Regions from separate parts of the Homo sapiens genome. Here regions 1, 3, 4 and 5 are each linked to region 2. Evidence: promoter capture Hi-C in human tissues and cell types (Jung and others, 2019). All regions are on one chromosome and are shown on one strand. The core of a region is centred on a gene start or on the middle of the fragment in contact, and the rest is flanking DNA. Distances in the headings are between cores, read along the strand shown.

What was found. The method cuts DNA at HindIII sites, captures the fragments that hold promoters and counts their contacts. A contact is called where the count stands out against the background at its distance.
Region 1: a contact is called between the fragment with the promoter of TULP2 here and the fragment with the promoter of RCN3 in region 2, in 4 of the 25 tissues and cell types used here (dorsolateral prefrontal cortex, liver, small bowel and 1 more).
Region 3: a fragment that was not itself captured here is called in contact with the fragment with the promoter of RCN3 in region 2 in 2 of the 25 tissues and cell types used here (heart right ventricle and spleen).
Region 4: a contact is called between the fragment with the promoter of BAX here and the fragment with the promoter of RCN3 in region 2, in 1 of the 25 tissues and cell types used here (dorsolateral prefrontal cortex).
Region 5: a fragment that was not itself captured here is called in contact with the fragment with the promoter of RCN3 in region 2 in 1 of the 25 tissues and cell types used here (dorsolateral prefrontal cortex).

What each region holds. Positions count from the first base shown.
Region 1 is chr19:48,897,368-48,900,067 of GRCh38, forward strand. TULP2 (TUB like protein 2) reads right to left here and starts at 1,377. Exons shown (of 13, transcript NM_003323.3): 1 at 1,223-1,377; 2 at 470-502; 3 at 1-29. The coding sequence starts at 501. RefSeq lists an enhancer at 772-1,587 and a cis regulatory region at 1,122-2,121. The HindIII fragment of the contact is 17,343 bases long and covers 1-2,700 here.
Region 2 is chr19:49,526,562-49,529,261 of GRCh38, forward strand. RCN3 (reticulocalbin 3) reads left to right here and starts at 1,442. Exons shown (of 7, transcript NM_020650.3): 1 at 1,442-1,497; 2 at 1,906-2,153. The coding sequence starts at 1,912. RefSeq lists an enhancer at 1,358-1,936 and a silencer at 1,400-1,519. The HindIII fragment of the contact is 21,368 bases long and covers 1-2,700 here.
Region 3 is chr19:48,631,313-48,634,012 of GRCh38, forward strand. DBP (D-box binding PAR bZIP transcription factor) reads right to left here. Exons shown (of 4, transcript NM_001352.5): 3 at 2,132-2,343. Among named protein-coding and RNA genes, the nearest start is that of DBP, 4.7 kb to the right of the region's middle. The HindIII fragment of the contact is 4,057 bases long and covers 1-2,700 here.
Region 4 is chr19:48,953,485-48,956,184 of GRCh38, forward strand. It overlaps BAX (BCL2 associated X, apoptosis regulator), which reads left to right and starts at 1,391. Exons shown (of 6, transcript NM_138761.4): 1 at 1,391-1,478; 2 at 2,064-2,115; 3 at 2,203-2,349. The coding sequence starts at 1,445. RefSeq lists enhancers at 1,070-1,638, 1,639-2,206, 1,656-1,865 and a silencer at 1,386-1,535. The HindIII fragment of the contact is 13,021 bases long and covers 1-2,700 here.
Region 5 is chr19:49,007,049-49,009,748 of GRCh38, forward strand. RUVBL2 (RuvB like AAA ATPase 2) reads left to right here. Exons shown (of 15, transcript NM_006666.3): 5 at 1-99; 6 at 254-320. Among named protein-coding and RNA genes, the nearest start is that of MIR6798, 1.5 kb to the right of the region's middle. RefSeq lists an enhancer at 2,392-2,700. The HindIII fragment of the contact is 7,286 bases long and covers 1-2,700 here.

The DNA of each region.
Region 1 (2,700 bases), core at 127-2,626, 630 kb before region 2:
TCATAGCAGCGAGCTCATGCCCCAGGATGCTGAGAGAGACACAGGCCCATGGTGACAGTGCACAGGGAACCTCGGTTGCCCAAGAGAGTCCCTCCTTCCCCCATCCTGCCCCTATCTCAGCTTGGGTTCTGGGCACCTGTGAGGTCACAGGAGGTGCAGAACCTGAGCCTGCTCCACCAGTTATAGGGCCCTTTCTCCTGGCACTGGCCCACAGAAGCCGGGACCCAGAGATCCCAGGTCCCTCCTGTCTCAGGATTCAGGAGTCTGGGGCCCCCAACCCCTTCTCTTTCAGACCCAGAAGTCTGCACCCTAGCCCCATCCCTTCAGGACACAGGAGTCCAGGTCCCCAGCCCCTTCCTGCAAGGCCGATGGTGCTGAACCTGCAAACATGGTTATGAAGCCAGAGCCGAGTGCACGGGGTCCCCAGCCCTTTCCACCTCCACCCCTACCCATCTGTTTCCCTACTCACTCTCTCATCAATGTGTCATTATCCTGAGACATTCTGCAGAAGCAAGAATGAGGAGTCAGGATCAGAACCAACATCCCAATGGATCCTGCCCACCAGCACCTAATCTTTAGCCTTATTTATTTATTTATTTATTTATTTATTTATGTATTTAGAGACAGCTGAGCCTCGCTCTGTCGCCCAGGCTGCAGTGCAGTGGCGCCATCTCGGCCACTGCAACCTCCACCTCCTGGGTTCAAGCGATTCTCCTGCCTCAGCCTCCCGAGTAGCTGGGACTACAGGCGTCCGCTATTCTGCCTAATTTTTTTGTATTTTAGTAGATACCGGTTTTCACTATGTTGGCCAGGCTGGTGCCGGACTCCTGACCTCAGGTGATCTGCCCGCCTTGGCCTTCCAAAGTGCTAGGATTACAGGCATGAGCCACAGTGCCCGGCCTGATCCTTACCTTTAAATTTGCTTCCGGACCCAGGCAGCCCGAATCCCAGCACCCACTCCTGTCGGGATCTAGTAGCCTGTTTCCAGCTTCCCACGGGGGTCCGCAAGTCCGCTTCTCTCTCCCCCAAATATCTAATTCTCCAGCACCCAGGCATCAGAACTCAGGACTGTGCACTTCAAACACCCAGCCCCCAGCGGCCTAGAACTCCACTGCCCACCTGCCTGGGATCCGGGAGACTTGTTCTCCTCACCAGGTGCCTGGAGAGGCTGCTCACATTGATGCCTCGGTACCTTGCCTCTCTGGCCAATCTCTAAACATACCTGATCCTCTCTTTGGAAGCTGGGGACCTAATCTCGGGATATCTGCGAAATAGGGAGGAGAAGAAAGACGGCTCAGAGGGAGGGAGGATTCCCTCTGGGACCTGAACTGGTCCACTCCCTTCTGACCCTCCACTCTCCACTTCCAACAAAGTAACGAACTCGGTCACTGATGCAGCCAGGCAACCCTGCTCCGGGGGTTCTGAACACGAATGCCGTGTGGGGGTTCCTTAAAGAGACCAGAGACCGGCCCGGCGCGGTGGCTCACGCCTGTAATCCCAGCACTTTGGGAGGCCGAGGCGGGCGGATCACGGGGTCAGGAGATCTAGACCATCCTGGCTAACATGGTGAATCCCCGTCTCTACTAAAAAAAAATATATATATATACACAAAAAAATTAGCCGGGCGTTGTGGCGGGCGGGCGCCTGTAGTCCCAGCTACTCGGGAGGCTGAGGCAGGAGAATGGCGTGAACCCGGGAGGCGGAGCTCGCAGTGAGCTGAGATCGCGCCACTGCACTCCAGCCTGTGTGACAGAGGTAGACACCGTCTCAAAAAAAAAAAAAAAAAGAGAGAGAGAGAGCGGGAGACCAGAGACCTCGCGGCCTCACTGTACACATCTCGCTTACAAGAAACTTAAAAGAGGCGGGGCGCAGTGGCTCACGCCTGTAATCCCAGCACTTTGGGAGGCGGAGACGGGGAGGCAAGATTGCTTGAGTCCAGGAGATCCAGATCCAGACCAGCAACACAGAGATTTTTTTTTTTTTTTGAGACGTAGTCTCACTCTGTCGCCCAGGCTGGAGTGCAGTGGCGCGATCTCGGCTCACTGCAACCTCCGCCTCCCGGGTTTAAGAGATTGTCCTGCCTCAGCTTCCTGAGTAGCTGGGATTACAGGCATGCGCAACCACGCCTGGCTAATTTGTATTTTTAGTGGAGGCGAGGTTTCTCCATGTTGGCCAGGCTGGTCTCAAACCCTTGACCTCAGGTGATCTGCCTGCCTCAGCCTCCCAAAGTGCTGGGATTACAGGAGTGAACCCCCAAGCCCGGCTTGACATCCGTCTCTTTAAAAAACAACAACAACAAAGTGTGAGAAGTGTGAAAGACAGAACGTTAAAAAAAAAAAAAGGCTAAAAAAGAATTAAAGATTTAAATATTTGTATTAAAAATTTAAAAAATATACATTAGCCAGGCATGGTAGTGTGGCCTGTGGTCCCATCTACTTGGGAGGCTGACGCGGGAGGATTGCTTGGGCCTGGGAGGTAGAGGCTGCAGTGAGAAGTGATTGCGCCACTGCACTCCAACCTGGGTGACAGAGCAAACCCTGTCTCGAATAATAAGAAGAAGAAGAAAGAAACTCATAAGAAAGGCTATGCAATTGCTACCGCGCTATAACTTCCAGGCACTTCGTGGGGCGAAAATAAATGGGAAAACTACAGCTCCCATGAGGCGAAGGGGCCACGATGCCCGCGGAAGTTATTTTTCCC
Region 2 (2,700 bases), core at 192-2,691:
CACTGTAAGCTCCGCCTCCCTGGGTTCACGCCATTCTCCTGCCTCAGGCTCCCGAGTAGCTGGGACTACAGGCGCCTGCCACCATGCCTGGCTAATTTTTTGTATTTTTAGTACAGACGGGGTTTCACCATGTTAGCCAGGATGGTCTCGATCTCCTGACCTCATGATCCACCCGCCTCTGCCTCCCAAAGGGGTGGGATTACAAGTGTGAGCCACCGCGCCCGGCCTAAGGTCACTTTTTTTTTTTTTTTTTAAGACAGAGTTTTGCTCTTGTTGCTCAGACTGGAGTACAATTGCGTGATCTCAGCTCACTGCAACCTCCGCCTCCCAGGTTCAAGCAATTCTCCTGCCTCCCAAGTAGCTGGGATTACAGGCATGCACCACCACACCCGGCTAATTTTTTGTATTTAGTAGAGACGGGGTTTCACCATGTTGGTCAGGCTGGTCTGGAACTCCTGACCTCAGGTGATCCACCTGCCTCAGCTTCCCAAAGTTCTGGGATTACAGGCATTGAGCTACTGTGCTCAACCTGAGGTCATGTATTTTTAATTCATAACTTTTACAAATATTTACTGGATGACTGCCATGCCAGGCATTTTGAGGAATTCTTGGCTACTGTCTGACCACCTGAATCCTTGGAGCCGAAGAGGAGCGAGGAGCAGTGTTCACTCTTGGAGGAAATGGGATATTTCCTCCGGCCCCTTGATTCTGCTCTCCCTTTTCTTTTCTTTTCTTTTCTTTCTTTTTTTTTTTGAGACGGAGTTTCGCTCTTGTTGCCCAGGCTGGAATGCAATGGTGCGATCTCGGCTCACCACAACCTCCGCCTCCCAGGTTCAAGCAATTCTCCTGCCTCAGCCTCCCAAAGTAGCTGGGATTAAAGACATGCGCCACCACACCCGGCTAATTTTGTATGTTTAGTAGAGATGGGGTTTCTCCGTGTTGATCAGGCTGGTCTCGAACTCCCGACCTCAGGCGATCCGCCCGCCTCGGCCTCCCAAAGTTCTGGGATTACAGGCGTGAGCCACCGCGCCCGGCCTTTTTTCTTTTCTTTCGTTCTTTTTGTTTATTTTTGTTTTGTTTTGTTTTGTTTGGTATAGAAGTGTTGGAACGTACACCTCTTTCTTAAACCATCCTGACAAAGGGAAAGGGAAAAATACATTTCCCGTGAGGCGTTGTGACTAGAACAGCTGGAGGTGGACGGCAGAGTGCCGCGACGACTGCCAGGAGTTGTAGTTCTCCCCGGCCGCGTCACTGCGGTGTCGCCCACCCTTCTTCCCCGGGCAGGCCGCGGTTTCCTTTGTGGACGTGGCGAGGAGTGCCCGCGGCACCCCGTGCACTCATTGGCCCCGCCCCGTGAGACGCTCGTGCGAGCTCATTGGGCGGGGGGCGGGGCTCTGCGCTGCCAGAGGCGGGGCCTGACTGGAGAGCGGCCGAATTGGGCACATTTGCGGGAACGCAGAGCGGAGCGTGGAGAGCGGAGCGAAGCTGGATAACAGGGTAAAGGGAGTGGGTGGGGGGCCTCTGTCCAGGGAGGGCGGCTCGGGTCGAGGACCAGGGTCCGGACTGGGAGCAATGACGGGGAGCCTGCCTGACCTCTCGCTGGCCACAACTATGCCCTGCACCTTGCGTGGGATGTGCGCCACGTCTGTCTCTGTAATTCCCCCTGGCAGGTCTGGGACCCCCCTGAGACTCCGTCAGAAGATTCGGTCCTCCCCATAGGTGGCTTTACCTCTAAGCATCCCGCCCTCTTTTCCCCCATCGCCCGCCCTTTTTGAGCCCGAAAGCTTGCAGCCAACTTCCAACTCCCTGTCCTGTCCTAGGTAACCCCTCCACCCCGCCATTCTCCTATCCCGTGTCTGTCCCCATCCCTGTGACCCCTGACCCCTGGCCTTTGCCACTCCCCAGGGACCGATGATGTGGCGACCATCAGTTCTGCTGCTTCTGTTGCTACTGAGGCACGGGGCCCAGGGGAAGCCATCCCCAGACGCAGGCCCTCATGGCCAGGGGAGGGTGCACCAGGCGGCCCCCCTGAGCGACGCTCCCCATGATGACGCCCACGGGAACTTCCAGTACGACCATGAGGCTTTCCTGGGACGGGAAGTGGCCAAGGAATTCGACCAACTCACCCCAGAGGAAAGCCAGGCCCGTCTGGGGTAAGAGAGACATTCGGTTGGGGCGTGTCCAGAGGTGGGGCTTAGGAGAGAGACGCGGGGGTATCGACAGGGGTCAGAGAAATGGCGTGGACTGAACTTCATTTCTTTGTGAGAAATGAAATTCTACCTTCTATCCTTGGGAAAAAGAAATTAAGTTAAAATTGAGGCCTAAAGAGGACCTTTGAGACCGGGCGTGGTGGCTCATGCCTGTAATCCCAGCACTTTGGGAGGCCAAGGCAGGCCGATCACTTGAGGTCAGGAGTTCGAGAACAGCCTGGCCAACATGGTGAAATCCCGTCTCTACTAAAAATACAAAATTAGGCAGGCGTGGTGGTGGGCACCTGTAATCCCAGCTACTCGGGAGGCTGAGGCAGGAGAATCGCTTGAACCTGGGAGGTGGAGGTTGCAGTGAGCCAAAATTGCACCACTGCCCTCCAGTCAGGGCGACAAAGTGAGACTCCGTCTAAAAAACAACAACAACAATAAAAAAGAGGACCTTTGAGGGCAGCAAAATCTGGGTTAGATTCTGCCCCCTAAGCGCTCCTTA
Region 3 (2,700 bases), core at 88-2,587, 900 kb before region 2:
ATAAAGGCCTGCATGCAGTTAGCTCTTGCTTGCTAAGGATGCTTGTTCCCTAGCAACAAGGCCTTCATGGTCTGAGGGCTTCTCCCAATGAAGAGCACTGCCCTGCCCTGCACATTGCCTTTCCAGATCCTGGTTGCTAAGGAAAGCTTGGTGCCCTGGTGATGGGGTTTGGTGTCCCATAAAATCCTCGCAGAGCTGGGGCCTTCTGACCTGGTTGCCAAGGCAACCTCATCCATCCTTGGCAAACAAAAGTGAGGTCTAAGTGGTTTCAATGACTGTGGCCAGCCTCTGACCTGCTGGCCTTGAACTGAGGCCAGAGAATAGCCTCCTCCCCAGTAGGACCTGACTGAGAGAAGAGCTGTCTCTTAGGAAAGGGGACTATCCTGAGACCTCCCCAGAGGATTATACCTAAAGTCCTCCCATCCTGGAAGTTGGTTCCTAAGGAAGACTCCTCCTTAGTAACCAAGGACCACGGGGCTCAGAAAGATGCTCTCTACTCCACTATTTAATTAAAGCCCAGTTCCTGCTTGTGAGGGTAAATCCAGTCCCTAGCAACAGGGCCCTCTAGAAGGAGAAACCACTGGTGTAGATCTGACTTCCAGGCCAGTCCTAGGTGCTTCAAGTAGCTATGTGTTACGCAAGGGTATGGCAAAGTCTTGTTTGTTTTTGAGATGGAGTCTCGCTCTGTCGTTCAGGCTGGAATGCAGTGGCATGATCTCGGCTCATTGCAACCTCCACCTCCCAGGTTCAAGCGATTCTCCTGCCTCAGCCTCCCAAGTAGCTGGGATTATAGGTGCCCGCTACCATGTCCGGCTAATTTTTGTTCTTTTTTTTTTTTTTTGAGATGGAGTTCTCACTCTGTCGCCCAGGCTGGAGTGCAGTGGCGCGATCTCGGCTCACTGCAACCTCCGTCTCCTGGGTTCAAGCGATTTTCCTACATTAGCCTCCCAAGTAGCTGGGACTACAGATGAGTGCCACCATGCCCAGCTAATTTTTGTATTTTTTTGTAGAGACGGGGTTTCACCATGTTGGCCAGGATGGTCTCCTGATCTCGTGATCTGTCCGCCTCGGCCTCCCAAAGTGCTGTGATTACAGGTGTGAGACACCACACCCGGAACATTTTTGTACTTTTAGTAGAGGCGAGGTTTCACCATGTTGGCCAGGCTGGTCTCAAACTCCTGACCTCAAGTGATCCGCCCACCTCAGCCTCCTAAAGTGCTAGGATTACAGGCGTGAGCCAACGCGCCTGGCCCGGAATGACAAAGTCTTGTAACAGAAGCCCAAGCAACTCTTGCTAGGGAAGACTCCAGTAATGGCAAAAAACAAAATCATGCAAAGATGCAATGACTGCTCAAATCACCCCAAATCAGAAAGTGGCACTGGCTGCTAACAGAAGCCTGAAGTCTCCCACCAGTGAGAAGTCCAGGCCCAGGAAACAAGGCCTAAAGGGGCTGGCACAGTCTTCATCCTAGCCAAATGCAATCACTCCAAAGGAAGTCCCACATCAGAGATCAAAGGCCTGCTGAGTAAGGAGAGACAGGCCACAGGCTGATATCCCATTGCCAAAGGAAGACTGTCCTTTGCAAGTGTGCCTGGTGGAGCTCTGGACCCAAGTAATAGGAGAAGCTCCAAGTCTCTACAAGTAGACCTAGCAGAGCTGGCTGAGTCAGCACCCCACAGTGACACTGTCTTTTGTTTTAAGACAAGGTCTCCCTCTGTTGCCCAGGCTGGAGTGCAGTGGTGTAATCTTGGCTCACTGCAGCCTCAATCTCCCAGGCACAAGCAGTCCTCCCACCTCAGCCTCCCAAGTGGCTTGTAGAAATGGGGTTTTGCCATGTTGCCCAGGCTGGTCTTGAACTCCCGAGCTCAAGAGATCCTCCTGCCTCAGCCCCCTAAAATGCTGGGATTACACGAGTGAGGCCCCTCGCCCAGTTGACACTGTCTTTATAAACCTCAGGCCCCTGCCCCCTTGTGCCCCGTGGCCAAGGAGGACTAATCTGTGGCTGCAGGCCAGGAGAGGCTGAGCACTAATCCCAAGGAGAAGCCCAGGCTTGACTGTGAGAAAAGGCCCCTCCCTGGCTGTGGGGCATGTCTCCAGCCAAGTCTATCTCCCACATCCAGCTCTGCTCACCTTCTGCTCCTCCGGCACCTGGATTTTTCTTGCCTTCTTCATGATTGGCTGGGGCTTAAGTTCCTCTTCTGAGAAGCGATGTCTTCGAGGGTCAAAGGTCTCGTGGCCAGGAATGCTTGATAGGGCAAGATCAGCTGGGTCGGGTTCAAAGGTCATCAACACCTCCACGGTGTCTGGGTCCACAGGGCTGGGTGTGTCCCGAGAGGTCAGGCCTTGGGGAAACAGCACGTGTCAGCTGAGTGTGTATTTTAAGGAGGGGGTTTCCTGAAGCTACTTTTTGCTGTGGTATCATAGCCACATGGAAAGTCCTTCTGGGATCTAGCATAAATTCGGCCAGGGATTAATCTCCCTAATATAAAATATGAAGGTTCCCTTGGCCAGGCGCAGTGGCTCACGCCTGTAACCCCAGCAGTTTGGGAAGCCGAGGCGGCGAATCACCTTTAGTCAGGAGTTCAAGACCAGCATGGCCAACATGGAGAAACCTCATCTTTACTAAAAGTACGAAAATTGCCCAGGTGTAGTGGCGGGTGCCGGTAAGCCCAGCTACTAGGGAGGCTGAGGCTGGAGAA
Region 4 (2,700 bases), core at 141-2,640, 570 kb before region 2:
GTCATAATATTCATAAAGCACACAAGTCTTATGTGTACAGCTCAATGAATTGTAAATATGTGTATACCCGGCCGGGCACAGTGGCTCACGCCTGTAATCCCAGCACTTTGGGAGGCCGAGGCAGGTGGATCACTTGAGGTCAGGAGCTTGAGACCAGCCTGACCAACATAGTGAAACCCCATCTTTACTAAAAATACAAAATTAGCTGGGCGTGGTGTCGCATGCCTGCAATTCCAGCTACTTGGGAGGCTGAGGCAGGAGAATTGCTTGAACCCGGAGGCAGAGGTTGCAGTAAGCCGAGATCGTGCCATTGCACTCCATCCTGGGCAACAAGAGCAAAACTCCGTCTCAAAATAATAATAATAATAATAATAATAATAATAATAATAATGTGTATACCCATGTAAACACCATTCAGATAAAAATATGGCATATTTGGGGCACCCGGGGAGTGTCTCTTGTGGCCCCTCCCCTCCATACCCTGCTGATCTATCAGCACAGATTAGTTTCTGCCACTTTTTAAACTTCATATTCCTTTTCTTTTTACACAAACACAAACATTCGAGTCATGACTGGGTGGGGTGGCTCAAGCCTGTAATCTCAGCACTTTGGGAGGCCAAGGTGCGAGGATCGCTTGAGTCTGGGAGTTCAGAGACCAGCCTGGGCAACATAGAGAGACCTCATCTCCACATAAAAAGTTTTAAAAATTAACCAGGGGCGGTGTAGTCCCAGCTACTCAGGAGGCTGAGGTGGGAGGCTTCAGCCCGGGAATTCCAGACTGCAGTGAGCCATGATTGGGCCACTGCACTCCAGCCTGGGCAACACAGTGAGACCCTGTCTCAAAAAAAAAAAAAAAAAAAACAGGAAAAAACAAACAAACAGAAAAGCAGGCCTGGCGCGGTAGCTCATGCCTGTAATCCCAGCGCTTTGGAAGGCTGAGACGGGGTTATCTCTTGGGCTCACAAGTTAGAGACAAGCCTGGGCGTGGGCTATATTGCTAGATCCAGGTCTCTGCAAAAAACAAAACCACTCAGTTTTTAGTCATCTATAACGTCCTGCCTGGAAGCATGCTATTTTGGGCCTCTGAGCTTTTGCACTTGCTAATTCCTTCTGCGCTGGGGAGAGCTCAAACCCTGCCCGAAACTTCTAAAAATGGTGCCTGGATAAATGAAGGCATTAGAGCTGCGATTGGACGGACGGCTGTTGGACGGCGCCACTGCTGGCACTTATCGGGAGATGCTCATTGGACAGTCACGTGACGGGACCAAACCTCCCGAGGGAGCGAGGCAGGTGCGGTCACGTGACCCGGCGGCGCTGCGGGGCAGCGGCCATTTTGCGGGGCGGCCACGTGAAGGACGCACGTTCAGCGGGGCTCTCACGTGACCCGGGCGCGCTGCGGCCGCCCGCGCGGACCCGGCGAGAGGCGGCGGCGGGAGCGGCGGTGATGGACGGGTCCGGGGAGCAGCCCAGAGGCGGGGGTGAGGCGGGAGGCAGACGGGCGGGAGGAGGGCGAGCCCCCTCGCCGGCCCGTCCGGGATCCTTCCTACCGGCCTGGGGCTGTGCGATCTCCAAGCACTGAGGGGCAGAAACTCCCGGATCGGGCGCTGCCAGCCTCCAGTCCCCTCCGTCCTCGGAGGTTCCTGGCTCTCTGATCCCCGTGTCCCGATCCCTGCCTCTCTGGCGCTCTCGGACCCTCGAGAACCAGGGGATCTCGGAAGCCAAGCCCCCGGGCAGGCCCGGGCTTGTCGCCCGCACCACTTCCTGCCTCTGGCACTGGTGGGAGGGGCGGGTCTCGCCTCTGCCCCCTCAGGCCAGGGGTCTGGATGCATATAGCGTTCCCCTAGCCTCTTTCCCCGGGGAGAATGTAGGATACAGGCCCAGCCTCCTGGCCTTTCTCCATCAGGGACTCAGTTGTCTGGGCCCCCCCGTCACTTTATCTGCTAGGGTCCCAGAAGTCCAGGGTCCCCAGCTCTGTCCTCCCTCAGGGGCCGTGAGTCTCCACAGTCTCCTGATCCCCTAGAACCCAAGAGTCCAGGTACCTCTTCCCTTCCTTTCTCCTCTAGGGCCCACCAGCTCTGAGCAGATCATGAAGACAGGGGCCCTTTTGCTTCAGGGGTGAGTTTGAGGTCTGATTATTGTGGCACAGATTTGAGGAGTGACACCCCGTTCTGATTCTGCACCCTCACTCCATCCCCACTCTAGTTTCATCCAGGATCGAGCAGGGCGAATGGGGGGGGAGGCACCCGAGCTGGCCCTGGACCCGGTGCCTCAGGATGCGTCCACCAAGAAGCTGAGCGAGTGTCTCAAGCGCATCGGGGACGAACTGGACAGTAACATGGAGCTGCAGAGGTGTGGGCCCCTGAGGACCCAGAAGTCCAGCCACTGGGCTCCTTCAGGACACAGGACTCTCAGCCCCGCATTCTCCTCCTCCCCTAAGAACTAGGAGTCTGGGCCCCACAACTCAGCGCAAACATTCCGGACTCCCAGCCCTCCTCTCTGCCAGGATCTTAAAACCCTCCTTCAGGGAGTCATTTTTCCCACCTTCCTAAATGTCTGTCTTGTCCCCTTCCCTTGTCCCCCGTTGGCCTGTTGCTTTTCATTTCAGCCTGGCTTGGGGCTCAGTCTCCTTATCTTTAGTGTGCGGTGGATGCGGGAATTTTCCACCATCAGCCTGATGCCTGCTCCCCGGCACTGGTTCTC
Region 5 (2,700 bases), core at 8-2,507, 520 kb before region 2:
ATTCACAGCCATCGCCGGCAGTGAAATCTTCTCCCTGGAGATGAGCAAGACCGAGGCGCTGACGCAGGCCTTCCGGCGGTCCATCGGCGTTCGCATCAAGTAAGCGGGGGACCCGAGGCGGGTGCCAGACCCCAGAGCCTGGGAGCAACCCCGCACCCCGGGCGGCTCGTCCTTTGTCCCAGAGCTCATGGAAGGTTGTGATTCCCGAGGGTCCAGGTGTCAGGCTGTCTCCTCAGATCTGCTCTCTGGCTAGGGAGGAGACGGAGATCATCGAAGGGGAGGTGGTGGAGATCCAGATTGATCGACCAGCAACAGGGACGGTGAGTCTGTGTGAGTCTGTACCCTGCTGAGGCCACCTCCAGCGCCAGGGTTGGAGAGAGTAGATATCAGGTCTGCACTGAGGTCAGAATCCCATGGAATGTTCTAGCTGCAGACTAGAGCCATGTACATGCCTACAGTAGGAGGTCAGTTAACTTGACAATGGCTTATCCCCTTATGAAGGACATTATGGGCAATAGAAACTGAGGCGGTAAAATAATGAGAGAGATCTGTTAGTGAGTTCCCAACAGACCTCAAAACCCAACAGACTTCAAAACTCGTTCCGTGGCCGAAAGGCATGTCCTGTCCATCTTACATGATACAGGTGATTTGCTCTCTCTTTTTTTTTTGTTTTCGAGACAGAGTCTCCCTCTGTCCCCCAGACTGGAATGCAGTGGTGCAATCTCGGCTCACTGCAACCTCTGCCTCCCAGGTTCAAGTGATTCTTCTGCCTCAGCCTTCCGAGTAGCTGAGATTACAGGTGTGTGCATGCCACCACGCCCGGCTAATTTTTGTACTTTCAGTAGAGACGGGGTTTCACCATGTTGGCCAGGCTGGTCTTGAACTCCTGACCTCGTGATCTGCCCACCTTGGCCTCCCAAAGTGCTGGGATTACAGCCGTGAGCCACCATACCTGGCCTCTTTTTTTTTTTTTTTTTTTTTTTTTACAATTTCTGTTTTCTCCTTTTTGCATAGCTGTGTTTTCTGATTTTGTGATCAACAAAAACACTTTTTATTTGGGTATAAAATAGGAATGTCAAAGTGTGACATTTGGCAATTTTGCGAGACCTCGGGCCTATGTTGTTTTTGATAGACTTTATTTTTTAGGCATGTTGTTTGTTTACTATTTTTATTTTTTATTTTTATTTTATTTTATTATAATTTTTTTTTTGAGATGGAGTCTTGCTCTGTTGCCCAGGCTGGAGTGCAGTGGCACAATCTCAGCTCACGGCAAGCTCTGCCTCCCGGGTTCATGCCATTCTCCTGCCTCAGCCTCCCGAGTAGCTGGGACTACAGGCACCTGCCACCACGCCCGGCTAATTTTTTGTATTTTTAGTAGAGACGGGGTTTCACTGTGGTCTCGATCTCCTGACCTTGTGATCTGCCCGCCTCGGCCTCCCAAAGTGCTGGGATTACAGGTGTGAGCCACTGCACCCTGCCTGTTTACTATTTTTATTAAGAGCTTTATTGAGTTTTGGCCAGGCGCAGTGGCTCACACCTGTAATCCCAGCACTTTGGGAGGCTGAGGTGGGCGATCACTTGAGATCAGGAGTTCGAAACGAGCCTGACTAACATGGTGAAACCCTGTCTATACTAAAAATACAAAATGGCTGGGCGCGGTGGTTCATGCCTATAATCCCAGCACTTTGGGAGGCCGAGGCGGGTGGATCACCTGAAGTCAGGAGTTCAAGACCAGCCTGACCAACATGGTGAAACCCTGTCTCTACTAAAAATACAAAAAATTAGCTGGGCGTGGTGGTGGGTGCTTGTAATCCCAGCTACTTGGGAGGCTAAGGCAGGAGAATCGCTTGAATCTGGGAGGCAGAAGTTGCAGTAAGCCGAGATCACACCATTGCACTCCAGCCTGGGCAACAAGAGCGAAACTCCATCTCAAAAATAAATAAATAATAAAAACACAAAACAATTAGCTGGGTATGGTGGCACACATCTGTAATCCCAGCTACTTGGGAGGCTGAGGCAGGAGAACTACTTGAACCCGGGAGATGGAGGTTGGAGTGAGCTGAGATCACACCACTGCACTCCAGCCTGGGCGACAGAGCAAGACTCTATCTCAAAAAAAAAAAAAAAAAAAAAAAAAAAAAAAAAAAAGAGCTTTATTCACCAGGCGCAGTAGCTCACTCCTGTAATCCCAGCACTTTGGGAGGCCGAGGTGGGCAGATCACAAGGTCAGGAGATCGAGACCATCCTGGCTATCACAGTGAAACCCCATCTCTACTAAAAATACAAAAATTAGCCATGCGTGGTGGCGGGCGCCTGTAGTCCCAGCTACTCGGGAGGCTGAGGCAGGAGAATGGCGTGAACCCGGGAGGCAGAGCTTGCAGTGAGCCGAGATCATGCTACTACACTCCAGCGTGGGCGACAGAGCAAGACTCCGTCTCAAAAAAAAAAAGAACTTTATTGAGTTTTAATTGACATACAGAAAGCTGTACACATTGCAAGTGTCCAGTATGGTCCGTTGGGACATACATGTTCAGCCGCGGAGCCATCACCGCGTCAGGCTGGTGAGCGCACCGTATGTCTTCCCTGGAGAGCTTCCTTGTGTTGTGCCCATTTTGAAGCTGTGGAAGCAGAGGCCAGAGCAGAGCCAGAAGCTTATCAACACTGGGGGCACTGGGGCAACATCAGGGCCCTCTCTGAGCC